Regions from separate parts of the Homo sapiens genome. Here region 2 is linked to region 1. The links are contacts of gene promoters, found by promoter capture Hi-C in blood cells and fetal thymus (Javierre and others, 2016). All regions are on one chromosome and are shown on one strand. The core of a region is centred on a gene start or on the middle of the fragment in contact, and the rest is flanking DNA. Distances in the headings are between cores, read along the strand shown.

The links. Contacts are between HindIII fragments. The CHiCAGO score rates a contact against its expected background, and 5 or more counts as called.
Region 2: a contact is called between a fragment that was not itself captured here and the fragment with the promoter of ZCRB1 in region 1, in 1 of 17 cell types (fetal thymus). The highest score is 5.5, in fetal thymus.

Annotation. Positions count from the first base shown.
Region 1 is chr12:42,324,100-42,327,902 of GRCh38, forward strand. ZCRB1 (zinc finger CCHC-type and RNA binding motif containing 1) reads right to left here and starts at 1,995. Exons shown (of 8, transcript NM_033114.4): 1 at 1,825-1,995; 2 at 1-5. The coding sequence starts at 3. It overlaps PPHLN1 (periphilin 1), which reads left to right and starts at 2,068. Exons shown (of 10, transcript NM_201439.2): 1 at 2,068-2,130. RefSeq lists an enhancer at 1,691-1,740. The HindIII fragment of the contact is 1,786 bases long and covers 1,242-3,027 here.
Region 2 is chr12:43,761,337-43,765,139 of GRCh38, forward strand. All of the region lies in intron 1 of IRAK4 (interleukin 1 receptor associated kinase 4), which reads left to right. Among named protein-coding and RNA genes, the nearest start is that of IRAK4, 4.3 kb to the left of the region's middle. The HindIII fragment of the contact is 3,443 bases long and covers 1-3,423 here.

The DNA of each region.
Region 1 (3,803 bases), core at 745-3,244:
CATTTCTAAAAGTGAAAACAAACTTATCAGCAATCAGTCTAAACCAGGATTCTTTTTTTGTTGTTTGAGACGGAGTTTCCCTCTTGTTGCCCAGGCTGGGGTGCAATGGCGTGATCTCGGCTCACTGCAACCTCTGCTTCCCAGGTTCAAGCAATTATCCTGCCTCAGCCTCCCGAGTAGCTGGGATTATAGGCATCCACTACCATGCCTGGCTAATTTTGTATTTTTAGTAGAGACAGTGTTTCACCATGTTGGTCAGGCTGGTCTTGAACTCCTGACCTCAAATGATCCACCTGCCTCAGCCTCCCAAAGTGCTGGGATTACAGGCATGAATCACCACACCTGGCCTAAACCAAGTATTATTAATTCCAAATAAAACCAATACATCAGACCAGTCTGGGTATTATTTGGAAAAAAACAAAAAACAAAAACCAATAAAGTATTAACAATCACCGATTTAATTATGCCAGATGTGTACACCTTCCTTACATTTTAGGAAGTTAGGAACAATGACTCCAGCAGGCTGAATTAAGGAATTCCTTTTTCCCAGTCACCACTTAAAAAAAATTCTTTTTTGGTTCTTCTTCTTTCAAGTATTCTTTATACCAACACTTTCAGTGCCAGATTGTATGGGTAGGGAGACGGGTTTTGAACAGATGAAGGAAAAACCCTGAGGCTACTCCTAACTTCCACTCAGACCATGAGCAAAAAAAATGCTCTATTGAATATGTACTGTATATGTACATTACCTGCACCTTGCTCACCCAGGTCAGAAAGAGCATGGGGACTCAGACAGAACCTTAGCCACTGATTTTTGCTAATACACAGTCATGCTATGCTTAATGAAGGAGGTATGTTCTGAGTGTTACGTGATTTCACAGTGCAGACATCACAGGGTGTACTGAGACAAACCTAGATGGTCTAGCCTATTGCTCCTAGGCTACAACCTGTACAGCATGTTAATGTAGTGAATAATGTAGACAGTTGAAACACAATGGTAAATATTTACATAGCTAAACACAGAAAACGTACACTAAAAATATGGTACAATGTATTACACTCTTAGGAGACCACTGTGGTATATGTGGTTTGTTGTTAATCAAAAAGTTGTTATGCTGTGCATGCCTGTACTATGGCTGGGTACCTTTTTTGCTTGTCTTAATATTTTTTTTCTCTGGAGTGGTGTGTTAAGAGGAAAATTTTCTTTTCCCCTTTTAGTATGATGTTAAGGAGTAAATTTAAGCTTTATGTATCGACAATATAAACTTCTTTCGAAACGCTAATTTTGCTTATTGCCAAATTATGAAATGATACATTATATAAATAGGCTTGGTGCCTCGAAGAGACAGACCTGTAGGTATGTGTGTATATGTATATAAAGTTTACAAATGTAATCAGTAATTTTCACATCTTATCTTACAAAGTCAGCAAATTACCGTGAAAATATCAGGCTCAACCAAATTCAAATTTCTGATTTAAAAAGAGCGTGCGGTGTGTATTTGAGATGGGAAGATCAACCATCACAAATGGAAAAATACTGACTCTATGGCATGCCAATTCGTGAAGGAATGAGAAAACTGCCTCATGTTTGGTGTTATGGGGGAATTATTTAGAAAACTTCAGGAACTCAACATAGATACGTCGCTTTTTAAGTTTCTCATTTGAAACTATGCGTTACACGTTCTGCTGAGAGCCGCGAAGGCAGGCAGAGGTTAAGGTCCTGGAATAAAAAGGGTGGCGGGAGAGAGGGGCAGAGCGTTTTGGCAGCCGAGTCTGGGGAGGGGGCCCCGCAGGAGAGAAGGCCGCAGCTGAGGAGGCGTTTACCTTCAGGTGGGTTGGGCCTGGGAGACCAGAAGAGTGCGAGCCCTCGGCTCAGCTGGGGCTCAACCCCGACTCTTCGTAGCCGCTCGCAGCGGCCTTGGCATCACGAGTCCTGGGAGGGGTCAGGCGCGGAGAGCAGATAATAGCAGCCACGGTGCTTCTTCCCGACTGTTTGAGATCCGGGCCCCGAAGGCGGGCCCAGAGGCGAGCGCTTCGCTAACGTCATTGCGCGCGCCGGAAGTACCTACCTGGGATAACGGCGGCGAGCGGACGGCTGCATTTACGGGGTCTCCCGGAGGGCCAGAGTCGGTGAGCGCTTTTTACCTTTCCCAGAGATGGATGCAGAGCGTGTGCGGGCTGCTAAACGGGGGGGAGTGGGCGGGAGTTTTCTGTGTCGGGTCCTGGATTCTCCTGCCTTTGAATTGTGTGACAATTCTGCCCATGCGGTTGAGGGTGGAGAGACGCAGTGGAGTTTGGAATAAAGGGAAGTATTGAGTCTAAGATAGGGGTTCGCCTCTCTGTAGCGCCTTAATATGCAAGAAGACGACTGAGCTAGGTAACTTCAGTGACCCGAGAGGAGTCAGGAAGTCGGTAATTTTACTGAAGGTGTTCACGGTACCCAGCTATTAGGCACTTTGGGAACTACAAAATAAACAGACCTTTTATGTTTTGTTTTGTTTTGTTTTCTGGTGAAGATCTCAGTCTAGTTGGGGAGACGAGGTCAACTTGGGGAGAGTTGGATTCACAGAATGACTCATCTTTAGTATGGGTATGGACAAGTGTTGATCTTCTTGGCACCTTTTCTCTTCCTGTAAATCTATAATGGCTACGCACTGCTTTTTCTCTAAGAGGCCATAACATGCCCACCATTCCTACAGAAAAATCAGAACGTAATGCAAGGTAATTTATACTTCTGCCTACCAGCACATACAGACCAGGCCTCTAACCACTCCCTGGGAGCCTGCGTTCCAGCAGCCTGGAACCCACAGCCTCTCCTGGAGCCTGCACAATCAATCCAGAGTGAAGCCGATGTCTTCTATAGAGACGGAAGTACAATCCATCCAGGGCGCAGCTGAATTTTGAGAGGCCTGAATGCCTCCGTGGCCGACAGGAGACCGCTGGCACTAATTCTCTAGGCATACTTGTGGCCAGCCAAACTTACCATGCTTTACATCTCTGTTATCCTTGGTTACCGCCCAAGATGTAAGCTTCTGTGGTCTTCTGTGCTATAGTCTCATTTCCATGCTGCTTTGTGCTTTCTTTCGACTTAGGCTATCACTGCTTCTTCGTTTCTTCCCCATTTAACCCCTCAACACCCCATCTGTGCTTTCTGAAACCTCTATTTCCTGCTTAAACTATTTTACATATTCAACTTCTTTAGTGAAATTCTCCTTCATCTCCTAACCTTAACTATTGATAACACGTAGATTTTCCTGCCAGCCATTTCAGTTGAGCCCTTTCTCTGACCCTGCATTTAAAGGTTGGGCATGGCTGTAGCCATGTTGAACGGATTTCAATTCCTCAGAATACTTTCTTCCCTCAGTATCTTCACAAAGGCTCTTTTCTCTCTCTGGGACATTTGAGCTCCCTGTTTCCTCCTATCTTTTTCTGGATAACTTCTATTAAAGATCTGAGTTTAGCTGTCACTTTACTTGAGGGGTATACCCTAACTTCCATAGAGTTAGGTATTTTTGCTATGTACTCTTAGCTGTCCTGCACTTCCCTCACGGCATTTATCACATGTATCTTAATTGCTTCTTTGCCATCCCTACTAAGCGAGACTGTCGGTGAGGGACTGTGTTTGTCTCGTTTATCTTTGTAACTCCAGTAGCTAATACAGTTCTTGGCACATAAGACAGTCAGTTATTTCTTGAATGATTGCAGGTGCTGAAGGTATGCTGCAGAGATCAGGCAGTTAACGTTAATGAATACTTCACCCTTAGAAGGGGTCACCTGCCACTCAGCTACAGCTGATTGTGGCT
Region 2 (3,803 bases), core at 452-2,951, 1.4 Mb after region 1:
CTTGTTATTTGTACGCTTTCAGTAGATCCTCACTACTGTTCTGGAAATTGAACCTAAATACAGTCTGCACATATCTTTAAAAATAATGTGATATAAGAATAATTTCTGCCAGGAAATAATAATTGCTCCTTTTTTTTTTTGACCACCTATTATTATGTGACAAGATTTGGCCCTTTGCATGTGTTGATTTTAATTCTTACAGCAATTCTTAGGTATTACTATCTCTGTTTTTCAGATAAAGAAAAGCAAGGTGCAGAGAAATGTATTTACTAGCTCTGGTCACAGTTGGCTTTGGTTAGAACTTAGGCCTGTGCAACCTCAAAGTTCATCTTCCCTCCACCCCTGCACAATCTTTTCCTCTGATCAAAGTGCTAATGAAGCAGTCTTAAAACTTTATTAACACATTTGACAAGAATCTTTTGCCCTCCTGTTTTGGGCACAGTACTTTGGGAAGGCATTGGATTCCATAAGCAGGTGCTTATTTTAATATATTTCTCAATCACCACCCCACCTTTTACACTTGTCTGAATTGTCTTACTTGAAAATATGAATGGGTTTTCTTTACTATGAGAGTTAGTGGTATGAGGAAACAGTCATGAAGGTATTTACTTATTTGTAAGCAACATATCCTGTTCCACCTGTGTTAATCCTAAGTGTACTAAAGTAAATCTTGAAGAATTTGAAAGAGATGACACTTTTTAAGTTTTTTTTTGCCCAGTCTGTTTTCATTATTGAAAATTCAGAAAAGCAAAATGAAAACAAAACTATCATAAAAGTCATCACCAAGGGATAACCACGTTAATATTTTGGCTTATGTTCTTGTAAGTATGTGGTTGGGAGTGGTATATGAATATACATTTAAAGTAAAATTTTAATTTCTGGGATTTTGAACTTCTGGGCACATGTGTGGAGGAGTTGCAGAAGGCCTTCTTTTTCCTAGTATCCCTACACTTATCACCTCTGCTGGAAGCCTGGGTGCAGGAGAGCTACCAAATTTATCCCTGGCCTTTAGATAGTCTGGGTTTTTTCCTCAATTCCTTGTATTTTGCTCTAATTTATAAGACTACTAAGCAGTTCTATCTTGTCTAGCTTTGTCAATCATGTTGTACCTTACAGTAGAGAGAAATCTTAGTAAGGAAAAATAACTTGAAGAGAGCAACTGCAGAGTCTATAGGCAACCTAGATACAATTTCTTAATTAAAGTTAAAAAGTCATCAGCCTTTCATTCAACACAAATGTTGTGAGTCGTTGCTGAGGTGAATTTGGTTGGGTCCTAGCTCAGGAGAGCACCCATCTAACAGAGAAAGCAAACACATAAACAGTAAAACATAATAATTATTATAACAGAAGAATGACTAGGTGACATTTTGGAGCAAAAGAGATGACAATCAGGGGAAGCTAACAGTGCCTTTTGAATTGGGCTTGAAGGAATAATAGGCATTTACCAGGTGGCCTTTAAGGTATGTGGGCTATTCTTTTACCTGGCCCTAGATGACTTCATTTCCTGTTTCACAGAAAAAATAACAGTATGTGGGAACTCTTCTCCCTTCAAATATATCTGTATTTAAACCTCTGCTTCCTTCTTTCTAGATTCAAAAGAGGTTTCTCTCTATTCAAGGCTGATTTCTTCACCCTATATGCTATTCATTATCCCATTTGTATTGCCAAACAGCTTAAGTCTTAAACCCTTAACACCAACAGTTCTCAAAAGTCTGGTTGGAGTCCCTAATGCTCTTTCAGGAGATTTGTAAGGTCAAAATCATGTTTAGTTAAAAGATTCATTCAGAGTGCAATGGATTTTAATGTTCCAAGTTAATTTATACAGCTTCAGATTCCTCATTGCAGCTTACCTTTAGGAAGTTATTTCTTGTCAAATTTTAGTGTAGTATCAAAGAGAAATATCTACTACTTTGTGAAAAGGCTATTAAAATACACCTTTCTTTATAACTATATGTCTGTGTGAAGCTGGATTTTCTTCATATACATCAACCAAAACAACATGCTGCAGTGGGTTGAGTGCAGAAGCAGATACAAGAATTCAGCTCTCTTCTATTAAGTTAAATATTGAAGAGATTAGCAAAACTTTAAAACAATGTTGTTCTTCTGTTTTTGAGGAAAAGGTAATTATTTTATTAAAATATATATGCTAACATCTATATTTATGATTATTTTAAATGAATTAATAAGTAATTTTTAAGTTTCTCAGCATCAATTTATTATGGTAAATATTGGTAGATATAACCAACATAAACAAAAGCCCTTTGGGGTCTACAATAGTTTTTAAGAGGGTAAAAGGTCCTGAGACCAAATTTGAAAACTGCTACTCTCTTGCATGCTCTCCTCCCTCTCTTTCCCTACCCCTCCACCCCCATTTTCCCTCCCCTCATACTCCTCTCTCTCTCTTTCTCCTTCCCTTCATAACCAGACTTCTTGGAAAATCTGTTTTTGCCATTCACTCACTTTTTCACTATAGCTGTTCCCAAGTCACCAATGGCCTTCTGATTTCAGAGTCTAACATATCCATCAGTGTCTATTTGACCTCTCTGAGTCTTTTATACCAACCTGCCACCTTTTCTAGAAGTCTCTGGTATGCTACCATCCTGGTTTTTTTCTTGCCTTCATGACTAAGCAGTATTTTTTAAAATTCTTCTTTCACATCATTCCTTTCCATTCTAAGCATTCCTAATAGGCAACCTCATTTTATTGTTGCTTCAACTGTATATGTGTATATGCTCTTAATTTGTATGAGGGCATTTCAAAAAGTTTGTGGAAAAATTGAATTAAAAGATAAAAAATGTAAACTTTGGCTCAGCACTATGGCTCATACCTGTAATCCCAGCACTTTGGGAGGCCGAGGTGGGCAGATCACCTGAGGTCAGGAGTTCAAGACCAGCCTGGTCAACATGGCGAAACCCCATCTCTACCAAAAATACAAGAATTAGCTGGGTGTGGTGGTGCACACCTGTAATCCCAGCTACTTGGGAGGCTGAGGCAGGAGAATCGCTTAAACCTGGGAGGCAGAGGTTGCAGTAAGCCAAAATTGCACCACTGCACTACAGCCTGGATGATAGAGCAAGACTCCAAAAACAAAAACAAAACTGTAAACTTTATTTCTGAACATAAGCCCATGAAGTTCAAGACACTTTTGTAAGCGATAACACCAGCCATTTGGGCCATCCCTAAAGAACTGAGAGTCCTGGGAATTTAACCACATCAATGAAGTCTTTTTTACATTATTAACTGAAGAAAAATGGGTGCTCTATGAAGATTTTTCAAGATTGGGAAACAAAAAGAAGTCAGAAGGAGACAAATCAGGACTGTAAGGTGGATGCCTAATGATTTCCAGTTGAAACTCACAGAATTGCCCTTGTTTGATGAGAGAAAAGAGCAGGGGCATTGTGATGGAGAAGGACTCTGTGGTGAAGCTTTCCCAGGTGTTTTTCTGCTAAACATTTGACTAAAGCTGTAACAGAAAAGCTTTAGTTTAGAAACACTTAGAAAAGCTACTGTTTCTCAAAACCCTCTCTAATAAGCAGATGTTACCATTCTTTTTCCCTCCAGAAAGTCAGCAAGCAAAATACCTTGAGCATCCCAAAAACCTGCAGCCATGCCCTTGCTTTTGACTGTCTGCTTTTGCTTTAATTGGACCACTGCCACTTTGGGGGAGCCATTGCTTTGATTGTGCTTTAGGATCATACTCGTAAAGTCATGTTTCATCTCCTGTTACAATTTTTTGAGGAAATGGTTTAGGATCTTCATCCCACTTGTTTAAAGTTTCCATTGAAAGCTCTGCTCGCATCTGC